Linked DNA regions of Homo sapiens: regions 2, 3, 4 and 5 are each linked to region 1. Evidence: promoter capture Hi-C in 16 types of primary human blood cells and fetal thymus (Javierre and others, 2016). All regions are on one chromosome and are shown on one strand. Each heading gives the region's core, a stretch centred on a gene start or on the middle of the fragment in contact. The rest is flanking DNA. Distances are from core to core; before and after follow the strand shown. Region 1 holds the start of SLAMF1 (signaling lymphocytic activation molecule family member 1). Region 2 holds the start of SLAMF6 (SLAM family member 6). Region 3 overlaps CD84 (CD84 molecule). Region 4 overlaps CD84 (CD84 molecule). Region 5 overlaps CD84 (CD84 molecule).

Evidence for each region. The method cuts DNA at HindIII sites, captures the fragments that hold promoters and counts their contacts. A CHiCAGO score of 5 or more calls a contact.
Region 2: a fragment that was not itself captured here is called in contact with the fragment with the promoter of SLAMF1 in region 1 in 3 of 17 cell types (non-activated CD4 T cells, fetal thymus and activated CD4 T cells); the score reaches 8.9 in non-activated CD4 T cells.
Region 3: a contact is called between a fragment that was not itself captured here and the fragment with the promoter of SLAMF1 in region 1, in 6 of 17 cell types (fetal thymus, non-activated CD4 T cells, naive CD8 T cells and 3 more). The highest score is 11.0, in fetal thymus.
Region 4: a contact is called between a fragment that was not itself captured here and the fragment with the promoter of SLAMF1 in region 1, in 4 of 17 cell types (naive CD8 T cells, non-activated CD4 T cells, activated CD4 T cells and 1 more). The highest score is 8.2, in naive CD8 T cells.
Region 5: a contact is called between a fragment that was not itself captured here and the fragment with the promoter of SLAMF1 in region 1, in 3 of 17 cell types (fetal thymus, activated CD4 T cells and non-activated CD4 T cells). The highest score is 7.4, in fetal thymus.

The regions. Positions count from the first base shown.
Region 1 is chr1:160,645,674-160,648,374 of GRCh38, forward strand. SLAMF1 (signaling lymphocytic activation molecule family member 1) reads right to left here and starts at 1,371. Exons shown (of 7, transcript NM_003037.5): 1 at 1,197-1,371. The coding sequence starts at 1,272. LOC107985220 (a long non-coding RNA gene) reads left to right here and starts at 1,336. Exons shown (of 2, transcript XR_001738266.2): 1 at 1,336-1,662; 2 at 1,800-2,701. RefSeq lists enhancers at 1,203-1,412, 1,453-1,502. The HindIII fragment of the contact is 11,196 bases long and covers 1,343-2,701 here.
Region 2 is chr1:160,520,683-160,523,383 of GRCh38, forward strand. SLAMF6 (SLAM family member 6) reads right to left here and starts at 2,573. Exons shown (of 8, transcript NM_001184714.2): 1 at 2,462-2,573. The coding sequence starts at 2,510. RefSeq lists an enhancer at 2,358-2,407. The HindIII fragment of the contact is 1,709 bases long and covers 493-2,201 here.
Region 3 is chr1:160,538,607-160,541,307 of GRCh38, forward strand. CD84 (CD84 molecule) reads right to left here. Exons shown (of 7, transcript NM_003874.4): 7 at 2,492-2,701. All of the region lies in intron 1 of CD84-AS1 (CD84 antisense RNA 1), which reads left to right. Among named protein-coding and RNA genes, the nearest start is that of CD84-AS1, 2.9 kb to the left of the region's middle. RefSeq lists enhancers at 1,488-1,577, 1,593-1,887. The HindIII fragment of the contact is 1,582 bases long and covers 522-2,103 here.
Region 4 is chr1:160,554,576-160,557,276 of GRCh38, forward strand. All of the region lies in intron 2 of CD84 (CD84 molecule), which reads right to left. The region is part of intron 1 of CD84-AS1 (CD84 antisense RNA 1); the gene reads left to right. Among named protein-coding and RNA genes, the nearest start is that of CD84-AS1, 19 kb to the left of the region's middle. The HindIII fragment of the contact is 6,836 bases long and covers 1-2,701 here.
Region 5 is chr1:160,576,521-160,579,221 of GRCh38, forward strand. The region is part of intron 1 of CD84 (CD84 molecule); the gene reads right to left. Among named protein-coding and RNA genes, the nearest start is that of CD84, 1.6 kb to the right of the region's middle. The HindIII fragment of the contact is 2,380 bases long and covers 157-2,536 here.

The sequences.
Region 1 (2,701 bases), core at 121-2,620:
AGTGGCTCGATTTGGTTTTCTGAGCCCCGAGCTCAGTTCTTCCTCCCCTAGACCTTGGGAAGTACGAGCCATGGATCTGCAGATTCCAAAAGAAAGTGGGCTGAGCAAGCCCTGTTCGTCTGGCTGTCTGGTAAAAGACACATCCATTGTGCAGCACCCCCACATCCCTGGCATATCACGGTGCTTTTCCTGGAAAAGTCCATATTGGATTTGCGGTCTTGAAAACCCCAAGCTTAAAACACCCTGGGCCTCAGGATTTCCCCCCGTGTCCGTAATGCCACCTCTTCTACTCCAGGCTACCTCCCACAGTCTAAACAAATAAGCAGAAGGAGATTCTCACCCCACTCACACAGGCAGTCCAAAGTCCACTTCTTGCTTGGCTTTTTCTTTCTCAAATACCTTTTCTCATAGCCCTGATACTTCTAAACAGAAAGCAATAGCCTGCCTTGGGAAGAAGATAGACAGAAAGACAGGAACAGAGTCCAGATCCAAAGGTAGCTCTTGTCTGGCCTTCCTGCTGGAGCTACTCTCTGAGGGTTCCCAATTTGCATTTCCCACATACTGTAACCAGCCCTAGCCTTCAGAAATCCCAACTTCTTCCCTCTTGCTTTCTTGGACCTTCTCTTCCAAGAAAATACACACCAGTATGACCGCACTGTGGCCACTGCTGGTTCTCAGCCAAAAGCCTGGAGTTTTCACTTCTACTCTCTCTTCCCACTCTAGCCAATGCTTTCTGTTGACCCATGCTCCTGGTTTGTCAGCCTGCATGTGCACAGATTCCCTCCCAGGGCAGGGATGTAGGGCAAATCTTCTCCCAGAGCTCAGTCCATCCAGCTCAGTCTCTCTAGGCTGGGTCTTTGCCAGAAGATGCCCATGTAAAACCAACCACTCAAGCAAGACTTCTACCAGGGCCTGTCACCCTAAGACTGGTCAGAAAAGTGACTGGAGCCTTTGGCTTAGAGCCCCTCATTTCCTTGGAAACTGGGGTTGGTGGGGCTGAGTCTTGGAAACCCAAGGGCCCAGGAACTTATAATGTTCCTTCCTCTTTGAAAGAGGCAGTTGAAACTGACAGCCAGTCCCTAAGGAAGAGTGACCAAACACAATACCCAGCCCTGCACCTTCTCTCCATCCACGAAGATACGCTGATTCCTGGCAGCTAACATGGGACTCAAACCATCAGGCAGATGAACACTCACCTGTTCCGTAGCTTGCCCCAAAAGCCAGGGAGAGAAACAGCACGAAGGTCAAGGAGAGGAGCCCCTTGGGATCCATCAGCCAATGAGGAGAAGGAAGGGATCCTGGCCGGAGCCTGGCAGCTGCTCACAGATGCCAGGCAGAAGCAAGCTTCGTGTCATGCAGCAGAGGCTGTCTGATTTATGTATCAGGAACCAGCAGGTTCCTGAACCCGCTTCCTGTATCACTGGGACTTTTTCTGCTTGTGTCTTGAGGATTGCTCATCTCCCATGAGGCTTTAAATCACTTTTTTGTTCTCAAGAAGCAGGCTTCTCAAGAAGCCAGGCACTTAGCCTATGGGAGCCAGGAAAGGGGGTGTGTAGTCACCTCGGCCAAAACCCGGCTTTGGGCAGAAACATGCGCCCCAGCTTCTTTCCTTAGCTGTCTCCAGGAACCGGATGTTGCAGATTCTCTGAGCAGTTCTCTCCGGTAAGTCTTCTTGGATTGCAAAGAAAAGATGTTTCATTGGATCACTCCTCAAATTTGGCAGTTCACAGCTGAACTTAGATAACTGCATTTTGATGAGCTAATAGACCTCTTACTTCTGTTTTATTTCATAATTTCAGATGACACCTCAACATGCAGTCTGGTGCAGGTGCCACTGTCACACAGAGATGGGAAGGGCATGTGCGGGTCACTTGGAAGAAACCCTGTGACCCCGATGAGTGCAATGTGGTATAATTTAGTAGCCCATGCTCCTAGTTTGTCTTCTTGCATGTGTGTGGATTCCCTCCCAGGCAGGGATGTAGGACAAATCTATCCCAGAGCTCCATCCTTCCAGCTCAGTCTCCTTGTTGTGTGTGTGTTTTCTCCTCTAATTTTTAACGTCTGTGGGTACATAGTAGATATACATATATGTGTGTGTGTGTGTGTGTGTGTGTGTGTGTGTGTGTGTGTGTGTATGTATATATATATGTATGGGGTATGCATATATTTGTATGGGGTATATGAGATATGTTGATAGAGGCATGCAATATGTAATAATCACACAGGGTAAATGGGATATCCATCACCTCAAATATTTATCCTTTGTGTTACAAACAGTGCAATTATATTTTTATTTTTAAATGTGCAATTAAATTATTATTGACTATAGTCACACTGTTGTATTATCAAATACTAGTTCTTATTCATTCTTTCTATTTTTTTGTACCCATTAACCATCCCCACTTCTTCCCCAACCCCCACTACCCTTCAGCCTCTGGTAACCATCCTTCTACTCTCTATGCCCACAAGTTCAATTGTTTTAATTTTTACCTCTCACAAGCAAGTGAGAACGTGCAAAGTTTGTCTGTCTGTGCCTGGCTTATTTCACGTAACATAATGATCTTCAATTCCATCCATGTCATTGTGAATGACAGGATCTAATTCTTTTTTAGCTGAATAGTACTTCATTGTGTATATGTACCACATTTTCTTTATCCACTCATCGGTGATAGACGCTTAGGTCGCTTCCAACCTTGGCTAT
Region 2 (2,701 bases), core at 97-2,596, 130 kb before region 1:
GGGATTATTTTTCAATATGGTTTGTCTTTTCCACTAAATTTTCTAAAAGGAGTCAGGATAGTGCCCAACCCACTTCAAAGAATGTAGGCTGGCATGAGTCATTGTTTTTCATGGTTGTTTCAAAGATTAATTTCATTTGCCCCACATTTTTGCAACAGTGGTCTTCTTTCCCTTCCTAAATCACTCCAGGCTCTTTCCTGCATCACGGCTTTTCACACATGATTCCCTCTGCCCTAAAATCTTCTTCATTTGACTTTTCCTGTTTAACTTTTCACACCCTTTAAATATCAGATGAGATGTTACTTTTCCAGGAAGTCCTTTCTTCATCACTCCGTCCAAAGCAGGTCCCCGTGTTTTTCTCTATGAAGGTGCCCTGCTTATTTTTTTTGCTGGCCTCACATTTTCTAATTATGTACACATTTGTGTGAATGTATGACTGTGTGTAAGCTAAGTAGCATAGTGAAGTGGCTATGAGCACAGACTCCGGAGCCAAGCTTCCTGATTTCCAATTCTAGCAGCCACTTCTCTCCTCCTGGGTCTCAGAACACCTGCATCTGCCTCCTGTAAACTCATTCAAATGTGTTTCTCTTTCTATACCCATTTCCCCCATAAATGTGGGGCAGTGAGCAAGTTACTTTAGTGTTCTGTGCCTTCTTTCCCCATCTGTGAAGTGGAGATTGGAGCACTGTATATTTCATAGGGTCATTATAAGAAGTATTCATGGAAATAGGGAGAAGAAGAGGAGTTTTAACACAAGGACATTCAGAATATTTTATTCTAGAGGTGGAAATAATTTTGCAGGGTGGTAAAAATGAAGCAAAAACTCAAGATTCTGCTCCTAGATCAGGAAGTGGCTCTTGAATGAAGGAAAGAATTCTCTCTCTTTCTGCATTTTATATATATTTCCCAAAGTTCTGTTCTCATTCCAGTTTTCTCCTCAGCTTAACATATCTCTATGCCATTGATTTTTAAGTCTCTAGCCTCAGCTCTACCCCTAGTCCTAAGTTCCCAGGATCCTCCACGTAACTTCCTCATGTATAGCACACTGACATCCTAAAATCAGTAGGTCCAAAATTGAACTCACCTTCCTCCTGTGGCTGCTCTCCACCTTCCAATTTTGTCACTTTCTTTGGCTATCCTGTCTGAAATTTCACTGCCGTCTTTACCATATTTCATCTCTCCCTTTCCTTCTTGATTTATTTCTTCCTACCCAATACACTATTTTACTTGTTTATCTTTTTTTACAGTTTGTCTCCTGCTAAAATGTTAACTCCATGAGGGCAGGAATTTTTGCTTGCTTTGTTCATGATGTATTCATGCAAACTAGAAGAGTGCCAAGCATTCAGTAGGTGCTCAATGAATATTTATTCCTTTCTCATTCCAATTACCAATTACTCTACTTAACTCCATATTGATGGGATCTCTTGCTTCAGTCTCTTCTTTCTCTTATGCTGCTGCCACACTTGTTGAACTGTTATTTTTTCTCATAACTATTACAAGAGCTTGTCGCATGCTGGCTAATGAAATTTGGGCAAATTATTTAAATTAAGTTCACCTCAGTTCTTCATTTTAAAATGGAGATATTAATAGTATAAATTCATAGAATTCTCATGAGACTCATAACGTGTGTACAGCACCTGGCACAATACTTGAAATACAATAAGTGCTCAGTGAATGCTTCCTACTTTTATCTGCTACCCTGGGCTAGCTCTGGACTAGATTTCCATTGGTCTCCTGGACTATCTCTGCCTGAATGCTACACTTTGTCTCCCGTGGACCACTTGTAGTTCCCCAAATGTGATATGAATCTTCATCTTCTCCATATAATGGACAGCAGGAAACAAGAAGCCAGCTGGATCAGTTCATTCTTTTCTCACTGCCATATATAATGCATTGCTGGACTAGCTAGCCCTAATTTGCACTAAAGGAGGGGAGAGATGGAAACCTTTTTTTTTGCAATGAGCAAAAGGTGAGAGGGTTATTTTTGGTGTGTTTGGTTGGGCCCAGAAAATTTGGCTCAACTGAATAATAGGTTTTTAATAATTTAGATGAGGATAGTGAGGTTCAGGAAGGATAAGTAACCTCCCTGAGGTTCACAGTACGATAGTAGATACATTGGTATGAGGGCCCATTTTCTTGGTCTTGGTACTCTTTATAACACAAGATGCTGGTCATAAACCACAAACAGTCTTGTCTTCAAAAGCTTATTTCCTCTGCCCCAGCAAATAACTTTCTTACATGCAGACACAATTGAAATTGTTCACCGACAACCATCTCAGGCTTATCGCATCCAAAGTTGAGAGGAGGTAGTAGTATATCAGGTAACACTGCCAGCGTCCCCTTTCCCGCCCCAATCCCTTGGCAGAGAGCCAGACAACTGTATACAGACGATTTAGGTTGAGCAAGCTGCACAAAACCAGGGAGTCACTCAGTGACTACACCGATCTGGATTGACATTTACCTGGGCCAAAGCAGAAGACAAACAGGAGCGATTGGAACAGCCACAACATGCTTTCCGCGGTGAAGACTGGTGCTTGAGACCTTGAGGCAGTCAATGTTTTTGCCCTTCTGTCATAAACTGAAAATACTTCTGAGACTTCCCCTTCCTCTTAGAGGCGTGGTGACAACTTCTTCCCCTGCACTAAAAATCCTAATTTGTAACTGTGTTAATTTTTTGTTTACTTTTTTCTGAGCTAAGTGC
Region 3 (2,701 bases), core at 63-2,562, 110 kb before region 1:
TGGTCTTGAACTCCTGGCCTCAAGTAATCCACCCACCTCAGCCTCCCAATACAGGCGTGAGCCACTGTGCCAGGGCTTAATTATAAATTTTCAACTTATAAGTTATTACATATACAAAGCCTTATACCACAGCAATCCATTGGTCCTTTCTGCCACCAGATGACATTAGCATGGCCAATATAACCATTATTTGTGTTTTGGAAAGATCACTCTGGTTGTGGTGTAGAGAATGGATTGGACTGGGAGCAGGCACGACTGCAAGAGGTCAAGTGCTATTGTCTGGGTAAGAGATGATGGCAACCTGGACTACTGTAGTTAGTGGTGAAAGAGAGGTAGATAGATTGTAGTGACATTCAGGAGTTGTGTTGGGGTTTTCAAGACCACCCCCAGATTCAGTCATTCAGTAGGAGGACTCACAAGACTCAGCATATAGCCATAGTCATGGCCGATTTATTACAGTGAATAAACACAAAGAAAATCAGCAAAGGCAAAAGGGCAAAGTCCAGAGGAAACCAGGTGCAAGCTTCTAGAGTCCTCTCATAGTGGAGTCAAACAGGATGTATGTAATTCCTTCAACAACATGTTGTGTCATGTTTGAAATGTAATCTACCAAAGAAGCTCGATGGAGCCTAGGCATTTAGGGTTTTTCTCTGCAGGCAGTAACGTAGGCACCCTCTACCTAGCATGCACCAAAATTCCAGAATCCAAGAAAGAAAGCAGATATTCAGCAAAAAACAAATTGTTGTGCCAACAATTTAGGTACAGTGTAAGTACCTTATCAGGGAATTCTTATCAGGGAATGGTAGGAACCGTCCCAAAGTCCAAGTTCTCAGACACCAGCCAAGGGCCAACCTTATAAGCATGCCCTTCAAAGGACAGCAGTTTTAGCCCTGCTGTGTTAACTCTTCTGTGTCTCCTGCATAGCAGGTAAAATCAATATTTTCTAGTGCATTTCCAACCAAGGGTTTTATAGAATCTATGAAGGTAATATACTTCAGAAATAAACAGTATACCTGGCTTTGTCGTTGATACATATGCCAAAGGATTGTAACATGCCAGCTAACACAGTTAAAGGCTGATAAGCTATTGCGTCTTCAATAATTAAAGTATTACAAATTGAGGACTACTTGCACTGGGTCAGGCACTGTGGATACAAATGGTGACAAAACCACGCATGATCTGTGTCCTGATGGAACTCACAGTCCAGTGACGGAAGAGAGGAATTAATAAAATAATCACAGGGAGAAATATTTAAAGACAAAATTGAAAACTGCTGTAAAGGCAAGAGGTGTTGTACTATGAGCGCAAAACACGGGCATCAGATATGGCCTGGAGGAACAGGGAAAACTTCCCCCCAGGAAGGGACGCTTGAGCTTATCCCAGAAGAATGAATGGGCATTGTGTGAATGAGTGAAGCTGTGTATTGGAGGTAGTGAGGGTAAGGAGGTGGAGGTAATTTCAAGCTGAAAGTCCTATGGCTAATGTGTAGATGAAATGAAATGAAATGTGCCAAACCTCAGAAAGCACTGGAGAAACACTAGCGAAATTTATCTTCTCAAACGGTTGCTGTATCTGCCTACAGAGTTTCTACACAGGGACTCCGAAATTCTACATGGGTAGCAGTCAATTTCAACCCCACAAGAAGATGTAGGTGGGGAGCTGGAAGACCAGGCTTATCTGCAAACGCTGGCTCAGAACAGAGCAGCTGTGGCCTCTGATAAGCAGGGAATAGAGGAAGTGGTTTTGTCTCAGGCCTAAAAACCATTTGCTATCTCACAGCGCCTGTTAGTAAGTCACCTCCCCTTCAGTGTTTACCAAACATTCAGAGGCCCTGCACCTACAGTTCTGTGGAAACCACAACCTCATTCTCCTCAGTTAAAAGCCCAGTCTTTTTATCCCTTTCCTCCAAGTGGCACTATGGGTGACACAGAGAATTTCTACTCTCCAATTTGGGACTCGGACTCTGAATGTGGTTTCCAGGACTCTCTTTCCTCTTCTGATATGTGGGTGCCAATCCAAATTCAGTTCAACAAATACTTACTAAGCTCTGCTAGGCATTGGCTCCTGTGATAGGGCACTGTGAGTGAAAAATGAATAAGACAAAGCTTCTTCCCTGGAGGGAGATGACCCCCAAAACGTGATTTAAGTCCTCAATTTCCTCTCTCTAGGTTGACCAAGGCAGAACTCTCTTCTCCACCTTAACCAAGCACCTCTGCTGCCCTCCGGGTTTTTTCTGTTTCTGGCATTTGTCCTTCCTGTCTCTAGCTTCTCAGTCTCCTCTCAAGGTCCCAATCATCTCTCTACATCAGCTTTTCTTTTTTTCTTTGTCTGTCTTATACCCTCAATCCCTTGGTCTCTTGTGTCCACTCAGGGCCTGGGTTTTCAGACAGCACAGGGCTTTTATCATGTGGACTGTCTCCTTTGCTGTTTCATCTGTTTACTTCATTTTTGTTGCTCTCAAAAACCAAAACAAAGTAAAACACAAAATAGATGCATTATAAAATAATATTTATTGTGTCCTGCTGAAATGGAGCTTGTAGTCTCATTTCTTAGGCACTTACAAGGTAAAATTTATGAACCATACTTTATTAATGGGCATTTACAAATGCCTGAAATAAAAGGTGACTTGTAGAAGGGATAATATATCTTATTGCAAACATGACACCTAGCTTCTGGAATACGGTTAGTGGCATTTGCCACT
Region 4 (2,701 bases), core at 139-2,638, 91 kb before region 1:
ATCTGTAGCCATTACATTGTGAATAGCACAAAAAATAGGAAGTATTCTTCTGGTATTTGGAAACCATTATCCAATTCAGCAAAGAAGTCGCTCGTGTCATTGATAAACAAATGAAGCTCCAATATATATGTCTTTGTTGAATCACTTTTTTCTTATTATTTAACTGAAATGAAAATATCAACCGATGTTTGTGTTGGAACTATACTCATACATCAATTACAACTATAAGCTGATTAGGGATATAAATGCTTAGCAAAAATCAATGAAAGCATTCTGTAAGAATAATTGGAATTTATCCTCTAGTGCCCTCTCAGCAAAATAAATTCTATATAGAATTTACAATAAAGACTATTATATATTTATTATCATTAATGAAACTGTGTGCTACACATCCTTCAAGTCAATAAAATTTGTACTAAACATAAATTTTATATATATATATGAATACACACACCCAATTAAGAGCTAATTAAATATTTATCAGCACACAACTACATGAAATAATCTTTTTTTTTTTTTTTTTGAGACGGAGTCTTGCTCTGTCACCCAGGCTGGAGTGCAGTGGCATGATCTCGGCTCACTGCAAGCTCCGCCTCCTGGGTTCAAGCCATTCTCCTGCCTCAGCCTCCCGAGGAGTAGCTGGGACTACAGGTGCCCACCACCACGCCTAATTTTGTTTTTGTATTTTTAGTAGAGATGGAGTTTCACCGTGTTAGCTAGGATGGTCTCAATCTCCTGACCTCGTGATCCACCCGCCTCGGCCTCCCAAAGTGCTGGGATGACAGGTGTGAGCCACCGCACCCAGCCAAAATAATCTTTAAAATTTTTTTTCATTCTGTTTTCTGGTGTATGTATATTTTCTTTATTTTTTAAAAACTATCCATGGTGGAAAGCTATAATTTCTTTAAAAGTTCATTAAAATGTTTTTACTTAAGCAATCAAAAAGTAAACTATAAAAGTTGAAGGCTAGTAAAGGGTTACTAAAGAACAATAATAATTCAAGTGATAGCTAGGACTGGAGCTGGCATGGGGAAGCGTTAAGGTCTTTTCTTTTACCAGGAATAAGAAAATGACCACATTTGGAGTTAATAAGTTCAGCGCCCTCTCAGCAAAGTTGCTGTGGTGGGGTTTGTTTCTTCCACTGTAGCTATGTGAGGAAGGGAATAGAGGAGTCAGAAGGAACTGGTGCACAACTAGAAAGGCAATAAATTCAGAAGTGTAGACACAAGATATAAGAACCATTATCTTGCGTTTGTGAAGGAACTCAACATGAACAGTAAGAAGCTGTAAAAATGTTTGATTCCAAGCTAGCCAGAAATTCTGGTCCTAACAATCTTTTAGAGGGATCTATTCCATATTAGAATTAGTGAAGACTTGGAATAAACCCAAAACAAGTTTGGGGTACAGACCTGGATTAACTATAATAGTGACTGATACGATATCAATTAGTAGAAAGTGAACAAAATTTTGTGTGTGTGCGTGTGTGTTTCTTTAGAAATTTGATTTACAAAAATGCCTAGGGAGTGCTTGGTGTTTACCAATTGTTGGGGGTAGGTGTTGAGGTAGGGGACAGTGGTAAAGAAGAGGATCCCATCTCACTTTTCTCAGCAGGAACAGAGGTGTTGCCTGCACAAAGATGCTGGGAAGAGAAAGTCAGAGTCATGGCCGACAGATCTTCATCCTCCCAAGCCAAGATTGTGGAAGCCACTGGAGACCTGGTTCAGAATCCAGGCTCTACTGCTCTCTAGCTATGGAATAATGGAGAAGGTATACAGATTCATGGAGCTTCAGCTCCCTTATTTATAACATGAGGGTAAAAATTTTTCCCTAAATACAATTGTTGTGAGGATTAAATGAGATTTTGAAGATAAAGATTATTCTAATTACCTATTTACTTATCTATCATCTATCTGTCTGTCTATGCTGGTATGCACATTAATTATCTATGGAAGACACAGAAGAAGCTGGCTACAGCCACTGCCTCTGAGAAGAGAGAGTTACATCTCATTGTATTATCTTTTGCTCTTTTTGTGCATACAGTGCTTAAATATGTATAGTCTATATATTTTTAAAATAGATATTAGAATGCCAAACACATAAATGATGTTCAATAAATGTTAGTTTCCTTCTCTTTATTTTCCCAGCTAACTACCCATAAGGTACAGATTTTATTGTATATACAGTACAGCTTTCTCTAAGATATTACTGTACTGTGTCCTAATTGCACGTGGTAGAAGACTTTCTGAAGATTGGGTAGGCAAAATTAAACATATAAAGGGTTAAAAATCAATATCTTAAAATTGAATACCATCTTTATTTTCTCAGCTAAAGTTCTCGAATGAGTTAAATATTTTCTAAAGGGTTGACATTTGGGTATGGCTCTTTGACTACATTATTCAAGCCTAGTTCAGAGCCTTCTTCATCTAGGAAGTCCTTCATAATGAGATTTTTTTTAAGGGATAAGGATTAAAAAATTAATGATTACTAGTTATTGAGCATTTACTTTAAGGCAGGCACTATACTAGGGAGCTCAACTACCATTATCTCATTTAATACCATCAATTACGATCTACATTCTATAAGTGAGGAAACTTTGGAACAGAGAGGTTAAACAACTTGCCCAAGATCATACAGCTGGCAAAGTATGCCTAATCCCAACATTAGCGTTCTTTCCGCTATGCTGTCCATCGGTATAGAAACT
Region 5 (2,701 bases), core at 97-2,596, 69 kb before region 1:
TCTATCCGAATAATCCTGTCTTGACAGAAATAAATAAATCATCACTCTTTACTGACATATTCCCAAACATTAATAGTAGGGAGAGTAATTTACTCCACTTCAGCATCAATGTGGGTGGAGGCAGCATGACTCAGAGGTGAAGTCTAAGGACTCTGAAGCTTAAATTCTACTTCTTTCACTTTTTGGTTAAGTGGCCTTTGACTCTCTGTGTATCAATGCTTTCATCTGTATATGTGCACATAAACCGTATCTATCTCATAGTGTATTGTAAGGATTAAACAAAATAATAACTGTAGACTACTTAGAGTAATGCTGAATATGCAGTGATTGCTCCATAAATGGTTACTTATTACTATTATTGATGGGAGATAAGACAGGGAGTTGAAGAAATAGAAATACGAATGGGGCAGAGAAAAGGAAGAATTAAGAGTATGAGACAGTATATGTAGAGGGGGTGGGCAAGGATTAAAACTGGTGGACTCCTTCATCTCCTACCCTCAGAGTGGGAGTGTCTCCCAGGGTATGTGGAGAGACAGTCAGAGTCATGGTGTTTCCAAAGTCATGATCAGAAAGTTGGCATCAGAGCATAAGACTGTGAATTTTGACTCAGAGAAAACTTTTCCAACATGGAACAGTCATAAGTTTGCACACTCAGACTTTCCTTATGTCGGTGATTTCTGAGGGGAAATGGGGATTTCTCCCTGCATCTCTCCACTGCTTCTCAGCCTCTTCAACTGCTCTGAATTCCAGGGAAATGTGTAAAGTGTAGACTCCTAAGCCCAATACTGAATGTAAGGGACTACCTCTACCAGGAACAGCAGCAGGAGGAATTCATGGTATATTTTTGTGCTCAGAAAAGGTTTGCAGAATAATCCTTAAGAGGCAAACAGATAATTCAGTAAAGGTGGACAGTATGTAAAAAGTACTCCTGGCTTCACTTTTATAAAAACAAGCTCCCATTCCCCTTTCATGGATCCTTGATGAAATGAATATCTCACTCCTAGTTTCCTTTTCCAGAACCCAGACAACCAACACCTAAGCTCAAACTCCCACCACCTTTTCTCCTGTTTATGTTCCTTGGACAATTCCCTGACAGAGGAGTCCTGCCCAGGATCTCTGTGTGGTAAAGCCATGGCTCTTCCTAATAATGAATGAAAAGCGAGTGTGAAAAATAGTAGCATTAGCTGATATCTGTTAAACACTTACTATATTCAGGTACCATGGCAAGTGTTGTACATGCATTATCATCATTTTGATTCTCAAAACAATTCTACTGTATTAATACCTCCCCATTTTGAAGCTGAAACAAGAGTCAGAGGAGGAATGTAACTTCGTCTAGGTCACAAAACTTGTAAACAATTCACTACTAGCTGATTTGACAACTTTATTTCAGTTTCAGTAGATGAAAGAAGTGTATCCTAGAGCTACCTTTTATCTTAGCAGGTATTAACCTTTTGAAGAGCATCAAAAATTTGAAAGCAATGAGTGAAGAGGTCAGGTGGAGCAGAAAGAAGAACCAATGGGATTGGGATTAACCTTGGAATTAGAAAAACCAATGTCTATTTCCAGCTCTACCAATTTAGGTAGTGAAATTTCAGGTGAATTTTTAAACCCCTAAATCTTAATTTATTATTTTTCTTGCATAATGGGATTAATAACGTCTATCTTGCTCATCTCAATGGTTTTCATATGGATGACATAAGAATGTAGGCATAAACATTGTAGAATGTTTTGCAAATTAAGTGGTATCAAATGCTACCTTGTCTGGTCTCTCTCTGGAAGATTAGGGACATCCCTAGTACCATTCCTCATCTACTTGCATTTTCTGTCTGCCATTCTAGAGCGACCAGCAGAGGCTCCAAAAATTTGGTCTGACTAGTGGTTACAATCTCCATGAAGTTCAAATTAAAGGAGCCATAGCTTGAAATGGCCAAAGAAACCAGAGAGATCACAGTGCATTGATTCTACCTTTACAGAAAATCCAAACGTACTAGGTTCCCAGGGTTCTAACTCATGCCAGAATTCTGCTAGTGCATTTTCAGAACTGGCAAGAGATACTAGAAGTAGATCTAGAAGTTCCAAACATAGTAAATTTCTGTTAGAGCAATTGTTTGTATTTAAGGAGATAACATGTACAATGACACAGCACTCCCAGATCTATGTTAATGTTACAATTTTCTTTGTACAAATAACAATCAATATTCATGTCGTTCTTTTAGTTTACTGTTATGCCATAAGTAAGAAAAATAGGGTTTTTAATTCAAGTTCTCCAACTCTTTTTTGAGACTATTTGTAAAAAATGGGATAGTAATCTCTTCCTCATTTATTTTAGAGTTTGTTGAGGATAAAAGCAGAGTAATAGCTCTGTGTTTTGAAAATAAAGGGAGTTTATAGAGATGAGGCTCAACAATGATAACGATGAGTCATCCATCACTCTAACCTGATAGAACAATCAACTATAATTAGGAAAGACATTTTTCTCTCTCAAACGCCATCACAATTGAATGCCAAGAAGAAATTGCTTGTAAGTCATTCAAGCTTTTAGAAGATCTTTCTTTTGCCAGGCTTTTTGGGTGGGTTTACCAAGTGCTGATTCCTCTGAGAAGGATTTGCCTCAGACCTTTGGAAACTGAGATCTCCAGATCTCAGAAATATAACTCAGTAATATAAACTTTAAAGCTGAACCTAAACACTTAGGTTT